Regions from separate parts of the Homo sapiens genome. Here regions 1, 3 and 4 are each linked to region 2. Evidence: promoter capture Hi-C in 16 types of primary human blood cells and fetal thymus (Javierre and others, 2016). All regions are on one chromosome and are shown on one strand. The core of a region is centred on a gene start or on the middle of the fragment in contact, and the rest is flanking DNA. Distances in the headings are between cores, read along the strand shown.

Region 1 (2,700 bases), core at 197-2,696, 140 kb after region 2:
GTTTTTGCTCACCCCCAAGTTGGACACCTCGCTCATGTCTGGGTGGCGATATCGGCAACGCTTGCCTCGCTTGCACACATTCCTCAAGAAGTCTCTACAGATGGCATCTGAGCTGGCCCCGCCACTGCCTACCCCTGCCCCACTGGCCTCCTCGCTGCCACCACCTCCAGGGCCTCCACCGCTGCTCCCGGTACCGTTGGCATAGCTGTCCCGGTCAGGCATCCTGGTCCCGCCCAACTCAGGGTTTTCTTTATCTTGCCACTCTTGGTGACCACTACAAAAGAGGAGAACTGTATCAAACAGGAGTCCTCCAGGGAGATCCCACTCTTCCTGACTATAAAGCAGGTGGCCCAGAGGGGCAATGGCTTTAGAGATGGAGAATCTAAGGGATAAGAATTCTGGCTGAAATGTCTGACTCATCAAAAGCCCCTCCCAGGGTTTTGTGCACCTGGTCTGGGTCAGAATGATTCACACTTGCCTGGCTAACGGAGGAGGGATAGGCCCAGGACGGAGCAGGGAAAAAATAGTGTTGGAATTCATCTTTCCTTTTGAGCTGACCTTATTAAAGTTGTGGAAGTGAAATTAAAACTGCAGTCAGTATCTGAATAGTCTGGAAGGAAACTGGGAATAGTGCCCAAGATGGGCTACTGAGCTACTAGGGCTGTAGAAGATGGGACACTGGTAACAAAACTTCCTTAACCCCCTTTCCTTTTCCTCAGGTAAGGGCTCTGTACACATCAAATCTCTAGAAGCCAAGAAATCCTGGGTGAAGAGACTGGTGTCACCAGCTTGAGGGGAGTCTCAAAACCTGTCATATTTTAGTATTCCCTCCCAGCCATCATCACTGTCAACGGCAGAGAGGTAAGCCCCTTCTATTTCAGGATAGGAGTTCTAAGTTAGAGTCTCCACTTCTAGATTTCCTAGGACAAACCATTTGTGATAAGGTCAAGTGGGAAGGAGTTAATTTCACAGGAACAAGTGACCTTTCCCCATTCCCCACCCCCTTCCTACTCCCCTATGTGAAGATCCCACTGACATCCAACCACACCATTCCTCAACCCAGAAAGATCCTCTTTATTTATAGACTCCATAAAAGCTTTTTAAGTCTCCTATTTCCCAAGAGAGCTTTGGAATGTCAGTCCACTGCCCTGGTTCTAGCCCTCCCCTCTCTCCACCCCCAGTAAGACCTGGAGTCCCTGCTACCACGTGTCTGACCTCCCAAGCCTTTCCTATGCGGTGTTCAGGCTCCCCCTGCTGCTGAAATAGGAAAACTTCATATTGTTCCCTTTGAGAATAAGGGAATCTTTCCTAATTCCTTTGGCCTTGACCTACCCCCACCCCACTACTGTGACTTTGCCTTCAGATCTCCCTAAAATGAACTAACCAAACCAGAGGCCAGAGTTACAAGAGAATCTGTAAGAGGGTCCTCCTCCTCTAAAGAGAGGTAGTCCCAGAATAATAGAAGCAATCAAGGAAAGAAGTGGTAAAAGAAGATACAAACTTTTAGTAAAGGGGAATGACCAGGTGAAGTACAAATGCCATCTATCCAAGCCTGGCTCACGTTGCAAGTCGCACCAGCAGCAGATAATTAGTTATGATGCTCCTCCCCACCCCACTCTCCCAGAATTGATACCTGAGGTAGCTCAGGTGAAGTCCGGGGCTCCTGTGGGTCTCCACCTCCACATCACTGCTGGGTTCTGAGCAGGAAAAAAACAGAGACTTGGGTGGAAGAAGGAGTAAGAGTGGAGGACTATGGGGTGGTTGTCACAAGAAATCTGACAAAACGGCAAAGCTTCGAGAACGTGAGGATTTCCTCAGGGTTCAAACTGAACTTCACCTGTCCAAGGGAGAAGTTGCCAGTAAGAAGAGTAAAACTAATTCGGAGGGACTGGGAGGAGGGGTTGGAAAACCAGCCCTGAGTGAACAAAGAGTGCGGGGCGCCCTGCCTCAAGATGAAAGAGGATGTGAGGGTCAGAGCACCGCCAAGGGCTGGAGTTAGTAATGGCTAGTGAGGAACCTCAAAAAGGCAGCGTCTGACAGTGCATTGGGATGGCCGATTAGACTTGAAGGCAGTGATTGTGACGCTTCCCAACACCCTAGAGTTTGCGAAAGAAGTCCTAGGAGTTTTCCCGCAGCAAGTCTTCTAGCTTGGCAGGTTCCGTGCAGTGCCGCCGGCGCTCAGCCGTGGGCTACGTGAATGGGACACTAAGGGCGCGCGAAGTGAAGCGGGGAGCTGGAGCTCCAGGTGTCATCAAGCTGAGGGGATGGGCAGGGTTGTGACGTCACGAAGCTGGCGTTTGCTCGCGATGCGGGGTCACTCAGAAAAGGGGCACTGCCCTGGGGTGTGAGGACGAGCCAGCTCGGTTCTGGGGGGCCTTCTGTGGCCTGGCCGAGCCCAGCCGCTGGGCCGGCCCCGACTCCTCCCCTCCGGGCGCGGCCTCCACCTAAGTCTCCCGCCTCCCTCACCTGCCGCCGCCGCCGTAGTTGCTGCTGCCGCCTGCCGGTCCTCTAGCTTCGACAAAGAGCCGCCTACCCGATCGCTCTTCCGCTTCCTGCGGAAGAAGTGACGCTCTAGCCAGCAGACCCGGAACCATACTCTATGGTGTATGAAGTACGCGTGCGACATGCCGCAGGGCGTTCCCAGCACGCTTTGCGTGTCACTATGGCAACCCAACCCAAAGGCACGACATGGTCTAAGCG
Region 2 (2,700 bases), core at 84-2,583:
AAGTGCTGGGATTACAGGCGTGAGCCACCGCGCCCGGCCGGGAAGGCTTTTTTGAAATGTATTTTCGCCGGGTGCGGTGGCTCACGCCGGTAATCCCAGCTCTTTGGGATGCCGTGGCAGGTGGATCACCTGAGGTCAGGAGTTCGAGACCAGCCTGACCAACATGGTGAAACCCCCGTCTCTACTAAAATAAAAAATTAGCCGGGCAGGGTGGCGGGCGCCTGTAGTCTCAGCTACTTGGTAGTCTGAGACAGGATAATCACTGAACCCGGGAGGCGGAGGTTGCAGTGAGCCGAGATCGTGCCACTGCACTCCAGCCTGGGGGACGAGAGTGAAACTCCATCTCAAAAAATAAAATAAAATGTATTTTTATTTTTTAATTTTTTTCCTCTCCCCTCAAGGGAGGATTTTTATATATAAAGCCTTGACAGGACGCCAGCATGCTGCACTTCGTCCATTTCGTGTTCTCTTCAATGTGTATTGAGTTGTGAAACTCTGAACAGGACCCTGGATCACCTTTTATAAATTGTATCAATTTTTCAATCTCCACTTTTCGTCTTCCTCCTTTTTCCGTTTCTGGGTTGAGATGACCTCCATTCATTTCTTCTCTAATTGACGGCTCTCTGGCCTCTCCATTGGAGGAGGGGAAGCGCCACAGGCTGTTCTGGGGAGAAATTGTTGAGTGTTTTCCACTTTAACCTTGCAATGGAATCAGTAAGGAGTTGGAAAATGCCCCTTCTGTTGGTCTTGGCGGCCTTTTCCAGCTGCCAGTTGTCATGGCCTCTTTGTGGGTGTTTTCTGCAGTAGAATCCTCCTTGGGGTTTCTCTGCAGTTTGAGCACTTTTGCTATTTCTTCTCTACCGAACTCACGCCTCCGCCAGTGGAGATACACGCTTTCCCTCCCTCTGGGGCTATTGCCATACATAATTCCCAGTTCTCCACCCGCCAGTTCCTCCTAGTCTGTGGGGGATTTCGGGGTGTGGAATCGCTGACGGGAGGAGTTAGCTCGGGCGGGAGCATTGTGGGCTGGGTAAGATCTGGCCAGCCGTTCGGTCCTCAGTTTGGGAAGCACCGCGGGACTAAGGCCCAGGTTTCCGCTAGGGTCTTGTGGGGAACCCCTTGGGCCGCCAGACTGGAGCGGAGAGCACAGCGCGGCCAGCTGCGTGAGCCGGGGAGCCGGCGCGCGAGTTCGGGGGTGCAGGGGCTGCTGGGGCCGCCAGGGTGGGGCGGAGGGCGCTGCGGCCGGGGTCCGTTTGCGCGGGGAGCGCCGGGACCAGGACGGCCGCCAGGGAGCGCTGCGGCCTCCAACTCGCCCGCCCCCCGGTAGGCGGGGCCGCGCTCTCCCTGCAGCCGCCACCGCAGCCGCCGCCTGGGCCGCTCCGTGTCCCCGGTGGAGCCGCCGCCGCCGCCGCCGGGAGCTCGATGCGGACGGAGCCCGGGCCGAGCCATGGGGATCCTCAGCATCACGGACCAGGTCAGCCCTCCTGCCCTTTCCCGCTTCCTCCTTCCAGGGCTCGGCGCTGCCGTCACGCGAGCCCGGGGATGTGCGGCCTAGGCTGGGCCTGAGCCCGGGGCTCCCGCAGCTCCCGCCCCGCCCCATGCCGCGCTCCCCTCAACCGAGCCGGTGTCCTTGGGGACCTGGCAACCGGCGGAGGCACCGCGGGAGCTCGCTCCAGCCAGAATCCCTAGAGTGGAGCCCCTCCACGGACGCCCCCCACTCAAACCTAGGTGCTCCCCCACCCCCACCCCCACACCGGTTCCGCTCCGGCTCCAGCCCGCTCTCAGAATGCCGGTTCTCTCTGCAGCCGCCCCTGGTCCAGGCCATCTTTAGCCGAGATGTGGAGGAAGTGCGTTCCCTACTCTCGCAGAAGGAGAACATCAATGTGCTGGTGAGTTGGGAGCAGGGAGGATGGCGAGACCGGAATCCTGGCTCCCGTGTTCTGGACCCCTCCCCACCGGTGGGGCGGCTCCGTGTCTCCTCTGCTCAGATGAGGCCGCAGTTCTTTCCATCCTGGAGTGAAAGCCTACTCTGCATTTGGGGATGGAGAGCAGGTCAGGCTTGAAGCCCAGATCACTTGGGCTGGGAATGCCCAGGAACGTTGTTCTCTTCTCAACCTCCGGAGTCTGCAGCGCCCCCACCCCTCCTGGAAAAAGGAGCCGGCTTCTCAGCCCATTGGCCCTGACTCCACCCTCCCTAGGTGCTTGCCTTTGACTCCCAATACCGGGACTTAGGACGCTGCAGAAACTATGGGAAGAGGTTGTGGGGAAGGGCCTGGAGCTCTGAGACTTGGGCTGGGGTCCTTGATAGCCCCCTTACCCCGCGCCCATACTCCCTGCTCTTTTTTGCCTTCCCAGGACCAAGAGAGGCGAACTCCATTGCATGCTGCTGCCTACGTAGGCGATGTCCCCATCCTCCAGTTGCTACTGATGTCAGGTGAAAGTGGGGAGCTGGAAGGTGTGGCACATAGGGAGCGAAGGGAGGGGAGGAGTCTTTTTTGATATTCAAGGATTGCTCTCCCCGGCTTGGTCCAGGCGAGGCTCCAGCTCCATTCAGATTTCCTGGCCTGATTACTGGCTTCCTTCATACCTCCTCCCCACCTTCCATCAAAATAGGAAATTATATCCCCACAGGTGCTAATGTCAATGCTAAGGACACACTGTGGCTGACCCCTCTTCATCGTGCTGCTGCCTCCCGAAACG
Region 3 (2,700 bases), core at 19-2,518, 230 kb before region 2:
TTAGGAAAGCACACTGGAGTAGATCACAGACACGCTTAAACTTTTATTAAATTTCATTTACTCCATGAAAGTCTAGCATCAAGTTAAAACATGCATCCCATACCTACATCCTCAGTTTCATTGGTCCCCATTCTTTTTTTTTTTTTTTTTTTTTTTTTTGAGATGGAGTCTCGCTGTCACCCAGGCTGGAGTGCAGTGGCGCGATCTTGGCTCACTGCAACCTCTGCCTCCCAGGTTCAACTGATTCTCCTGCCTCAGCCTCCTGAGTAGCTGAGATTACAGGTGCATGCCACCACGCCTGGCTAATTTTTGTATTTTCAGTAGAGATGGGGTTTCACCGTGTTGGTCAGGCTGGTCTCGAACTCCTGACCTTGTGATCTGCCCACCTCAGTCTCCCAAAGTGCTGGGATTACAGGCATAAGCCACCACGCCCGGCTGGTCCACATTCTTATACCCACGTTTCATTCCAACCAAACTAGAGGTAGAGTCCCTCAAATGTTCCTCTCAGGCTATGTTTATTCTTGTAGAGCCCTCTGTCTGAAACACCTCTCGTGCTTTAAAAACCAGCTCCTGTCAGTCACCATTCCTCTTCTATCCCAGTGGCCCTTCACCCCCAGCTTAGTTAGATGTCCCCTTTATACTTTCTTCTGCATGTCTCTACATCACAGCATTTTTCATTAGGAATTTTAAACATAAGCTTTCTCATTTCTCCCAGTAGAAACTGGTTTATTAAATTTTTAAATTTCTGGATTTTCCAGCACTGGACCTGGCACACTGAATGCCAACAAATAAATATTAATTGAGTGAATGGAAGCTCATTATGTCAGAGCCCCAAGTACTTACATTTTACCCAGTAAAATACAAGTTTATCTTTTACAAATGGAGAAACTAAGGCAGAAAGGAGTTTGTAACAATAGTATCATTAACAAAGATTAATAAAAAAATGAACTAATCTTTTACTTGGACCAATTAACATCCTAGCTACAGTCTAAAGAGTAGAACAGGCCAGGTGCGGTGGCTCACACCTGCAATCCTAGCACTTTGAGAGGCTGAGGCGGGCAAATCAAGGGGTCAGGAGTTCGAGACCAGCCTGGCCAACATAGTGAAACTCCGTCACTACTAAAAATACGAAAATTAGCCGAGCATATTGGCGGGTGCCTGTAATCCCAGCTATTCGGAAGGCTGAGGCAGGAGAATTGCTTGAACCCGGGAGGCGGATGTTGCAGTGAGCCAAGATCACACCATTGCACTCCAGCATGGACGACAGAGCGAGACTCCATCACACACACACACACACACACACACACACACACACACAAAATAGAGTAGAACAAATGAGTCTCTAAATCATAAGAAATAAACAAACTCCAAACATCAATTTCCTATCACAGAGGATTAGCTTTTCCTTCTTTCTTTCTTTTCTTTTTTTTTTTTTGTTTGAGACGGAGTTTTGCTCTTGTTGCCCGGGCTGGAGTGCAATGGCGTGATCTCAGCTCACCGCAACCTCCGCCTCCCAGATTCAAGCAATTCTCCTGCCTCAGCCTCCTGAGCAGCTGGGATTACAGGCATGAGCCACCGCGCCCGGCCCGGATTTAGCTTTTATTAAGGATTCAAAATCATTAAGTCTAATCCTCTCTCACATACCACAAAACTCTGGCACAGCCATGGACTAACCTAAAAGCCCACTGTTAGAGACACAAAGAACTTTCTTTCAGTTATGAAAATCTTCATTTCTAGCTGCCCTTGTCATAGTTGGCTAATAGTTTTGCACAAATTAAACTAGATGATGAGTATTTTTCAAATTAGAAACAAAAAGAGGACCTGACCCTGCCAAGCTTTAACCACCTGGGACAACAAACTTGTTCTTCTCCAGCATCTTATACTTTACACAGTACCATTGGCCTCCCAAGTCACCAGTTCATGCTCCATCCTCATGCAAAGACAGCAATATTGTATTGGAGACAGTTAGTCCAAAGGTCCAAGTGCAGCTGGAGCTAGTTCTCTAAGCAAAGAACCTCTGCTTCCATGCATAGATCTTCTTCACTACCCAACCAGTTCCTATTAGTGGAAGAGTGCTGGGAGAAAGAGAGTAAGGAACTCATTAGAGTATAAAGCTAATTCAAAGAGGCAGAAATAGGAAAAAAAGGAAGCAAATTACTTCTGGGTAATGTTTAGAAATTCCCTAACAGATGGTATTTTTCTCTTGAATAGATCAAAACGTTTCAGATAAATCATATTTCTATGAAACAAGGATAAGATTCGTCTGTTACGTATGAAAAAAACTAATGCAGGATTGAGTTTACGTTAAGTATTGAGACCCAGAACTCTGCCTCTTGGGCAAAGCCAAGCATAAAGCAGCAAGCCCTCCCAGAATTAGACGGCTTTCCACGGACAGGAGAACAGATACAGCAGACACAGAATGACTACAGAAGGCGAAAACAAGCAAAAACAAATGTCACTCCATCTGGTTTTAAGCCAAATAAGCCCTCCAACCCTAACCAAGGCAAAGGAGAACTGCCTTTCCACAGAACACACCTGACTGGTTTCAGTACTTGTTTTCCCACGAGTACCCTTGAAACTCATTTTAATCCAAAAATGAAAACTATGGGACAAGCACGGTGGCTCATGCCTGTAATCCCAGCACTTGTGGGAGGCTGAGGCGGGCGGATCATCTGAGGTCAGGAGTTTGAGACCAGCCTG
Region 4 (2,700 bases), core at 201-2,700, 160 kb after region 2:
GCTCCGGCGGGAAGGCGGAGCCGTTGGGGAGCTTGAGGGGAAGCGTGGTCTCTCCCGGAAAAACCACTTCCACCGAGAACGCTGAGCGAGAGCCAGTAACAGAGAGGGGCGGGCTGAGGGGAGAGGGGCGGAGCTACGGCGGGGAAATAGGTTTAAAGTCGAGCGGGCAGGGGTGGAGTAGAGTGGAGCCGCAGCGGGTGGGCAGTGTCTACACCTAGGTCGGGGAGGCTGGGTGCGCCCTTCTTCGGATCCCTGGGTCGGCTGGCGAAACCCGCCCAGCCGGTCCAGTCGTCCTCCGAAGCTGGGAGAACAGGGAGGGGCAGACAGGTGGAAGAAGACCAAGGGTGCTGGTAACGGGGGCTAACTGGGCAGCCAGACACCGGAGGGATCATCCATTTAAAGGCCTCGCAATCTAGAGGCCGGACTCCTAATGAAGTAACATGACTTTATTGTTCCAATAACAGGCACCTGGATGGAGCACCTAAGGGAAGTGTTCAGAAAGACATGTTTGTTGAGAGTTCTTACCGTGAAAAAATAAAAAGATTTGATGACTTTTCTAAGATAATGAATTCAGAAGCATCTGGAGGTTTCAGTGTTTGGCCTCTGAAGGAGGGCTTATAGGGCTTTTTATAAGTCCTAAAGCACGTAGGTTCTTTTTGTTATTCCCAATTGGTTGCCTTGTAGATTCCTACTAAAACCCTTAATGAAAAGGACTATGCGCTATGGTTGTTCTAAAGAAATAGAAGTAATAGTAGGACTAGAGAAAGCTGCATGGGACAGAGTAGCACTGTCAGAACACAGAAAGGTGAGTATCCACTGCTGAGGAGCAGATCTCTTATCTAACATACGAAATGTCTTCATTTGACAGACAGGAAGCTGAAAAAAAACTTTGGCATTTTTATTCAGACACGTATAAAAACAAAACAAAAAACTTCAGTGATACAACAGACGTTTTCCCTTAGTTCCCCATCCAAGGGGACAGAGGTGTGCAGCTGAAGCTGGATCTTTTTTCTGTCCTACCTGGAAGCTTCTCACTGCTGGATGAGAATGGCTTCTAAAAGTGGATCTTGGGGATCCTTGTGAATTTGCCCTCGGATAAGGAGTGAAGATCATTTACGGCACATGTGGATTATGGTTTACACAAAGATGTCCAGTTATTTTTCCTTCTGACTACCCCCACCACCACTTCCTGAGATGAGATGTCTAGGTATAGGAGGATGTGGCTGTTGGGGTTAGACTTGATTCAGTGCAAAAACAAGAAACAGTGCCCCTTAAACAAGGGCTGTAACTTAAATCAGTTTTTCTTGGCACCTTACAATAAGAGCACATGCACAGGAATTGGGAGGATTTTGCATCCTGGATCTACTGCTTAATTTATTTCATCTCTTTAAGGCTCAGTTTCTTTTTTTTTTTTCCCCTGTAGAGACAGTGTCTTGCTATGTTTCCATAGGCTTATCTCTAATTCTGGGCTCAAGTGATCTTCCCATCTCAGCCTCCCAAAGTGCTGGCTGGGATTACAGGCATGAGCCACTGCACCCAGTTCTAAAGTTTTTTTTTTTTTTTTTTTTTTTTTTTTAAAGAGATGGGGGTCTTACTATGTTGGCTAAGCTGGTCTCAAACTCCTTGCCTCAGGTAATCCTTCTGCCTCAGCCTCCCAAAGTGCTGAGATTACAGGCATGAGCCACCATGCCCGACTTCCCTTTGTGTAAAATGAGATAATATGTATGTCACAGAATTGTTTTAAGGATGATAAAGGACTAAGTGAGATAATGTAGGTGAAGTTTAGTATGATGCCTGGCTCATAGTTAAGTGCTGAATTATGATAGTAATCAATATCTACTCCTAACCTCTTTCTTCACAGATTTTAAGCTTCTGTCTTTCTAGGGGGTTAAGAGTCATAAACCAAAATTACACTTTCCTCTGCTAGGTTTCCTCCCTTTCCTCTTCTTGACAGTCTGATGGGAAACAAAGGCACACATAAGAGCCTAGTTCCAAGTAGTCAAGAGCCTGAGAGGAAGGGATATGGAGAGTAATCCTTCATATCTCCAGGAGTGCCTGTGAAGAAGCTGAGGAATGGGACTGGGAAAGCACACAAAATAAGGAAAACCTTTCCTGGGGTTGGGAAAGAGAAGAAAGTGCACAGCTGGCTACATACCATAAGAATTTTGTGTCAAAATGTTTAAAAGCCTCCAAAGATTGAATGGAATTGTCTGGGACTGGGGAAAAGGGGCTGGGACCTGGGAGAGAGAGGGAATAGGGAGAAGACGGTACCCTCTAAAGGCACTAGCTGCCATTAAATGCTCCCTGAGTGCCACAGGGAGCAGGAGTTACGTTCTCTGGGCATTAGCCTTGGGGAAAAGCCTGCTATGCCAGTAATCAGGGTTATCAAAGGCAGAGTCTGTAGCCTCTAAGCTACGTAGAGTTTTTAGGCGGGCATAATGGACATGGGGGGCCTGATGTCCAGGCCCCTGAAAAGCTCTCATCTCTTCATACCCTTGCTCAGATGCTGGGCAGGCCCCCATGGCTGCATAATCACCCCCAGGACCACCTCCATCTCGTTGCCGATTCATATATTCATAGTCTTCATCTGGAGTTGTGCCTGCAGTGGGCATGATGGGTACAGGGTGGAGTGGGCAACTCTGTGTGCTGCCCAGAGAGGCACTGAGGTCTGACCCCACATCCATGTACTCATAACCCAGC

Evidence for each region. Contacts are between HindIII fragments. The CHiCAGO score rates a contact against its expected background, and 5 or more counts as called.
Region 1: a fragment that was not itself captured here is called in contact with the fragment with the promoter of ANKRD52 in region 2 in 11 of 17 cell types (naive CD4 T cells, naive CD8 T cells, activated CD4 T cells and 8 more); the score reaches 11.5 in naive CD4 T cells.
Region 3: a fragment that was not itself captured here is called in contact with the fragment with the promoter of ANKRD52 in region 2 in 2 of 17 cell types (naive B cells and M1 macrophages); the score reaches 7.6 in naive B cells.
Region 4: a contact is called between a fragment that was not itself captured here and the fragment with the promoter of ANKRD52 in region 2, in 1 of 17 cell types (activated CD4 T cells). The highest score is 5.2, in activated CD4 T cells.

The regions. Positions count from the first base shown.
Region 1 is chr12:56,118,085-56,120,784 of GRCh38, reverse strand. It overlaps ZC3H10 (zinc finger CCCH-type containing 10), which reads right to left and starts at 2,519. Exons shown (of 3, transcript NM_032786.3): 1 at 2,467-2,519; 2 at 1,634-1,697; 3 at 1-274. The coding sequence starts at 222. The HindIII fragment of the contact is 696 bases long and covers 1,099-1,794 here.
Region 2 is chr12:56,257,017-56,259,716 of GRCh38, reverse strand. ANKRD52 (ankyrin repeat domain 52) reads left to right here and starts at 1,333. Exons shown (of 28, transcript NM_173595.4): 1 at 1,333-1,474; 2 at 1,806-1,889; 3 at 2,356-2,434; 4 at 2,632-2,700. The coding sequence starts at 1,448. RefSeq lists silencers at 1,075-1,134, 1,145-1,694, 1,715-1,784 and enhancers at 1,845-1,894, 1,975-2,024, 2,331-2,700. The HindIII fragment of the contact is 14,479 bases long and covers 1-2,700 here.
Region 3 is chr12:56,489,811-56,492,510 of GRCh38, reverse strand. No RefSeq gene overlaps it. Among named protein-coding and RNA genes, the nearest start is that of GLS2, 3.0 kb to the right of the region's middle. The HindIII fragment of the contact is 1,138 bases long and covers 700-1,837 here.
Region 4 is chr12:56,101,683-56,104,382 of GRCh38, reverse strand. It overlaps ERBB3 (erb-b2 receptor tyrosine kinase 3), which reads right to left. Exons shown (of 28, transcript NM_001982.4): 28 at 878-2,700. The coding sequence ends at 2,328. LOC105369782 (a long non-coding RNA gene) reads left to right here. Exons shown (of 2, transcript XR_944995.4): 1 at 1-95; 2 at 465-569. Among named protein-coding and RNA genes, the nearest start is that of PA2G4, 1.5 kb to the left of the region's middle. RefSeq lists an enhancer at 1-129. The HindIII fragment of the contact is 842 bases long and covers 1,030-1,871 here.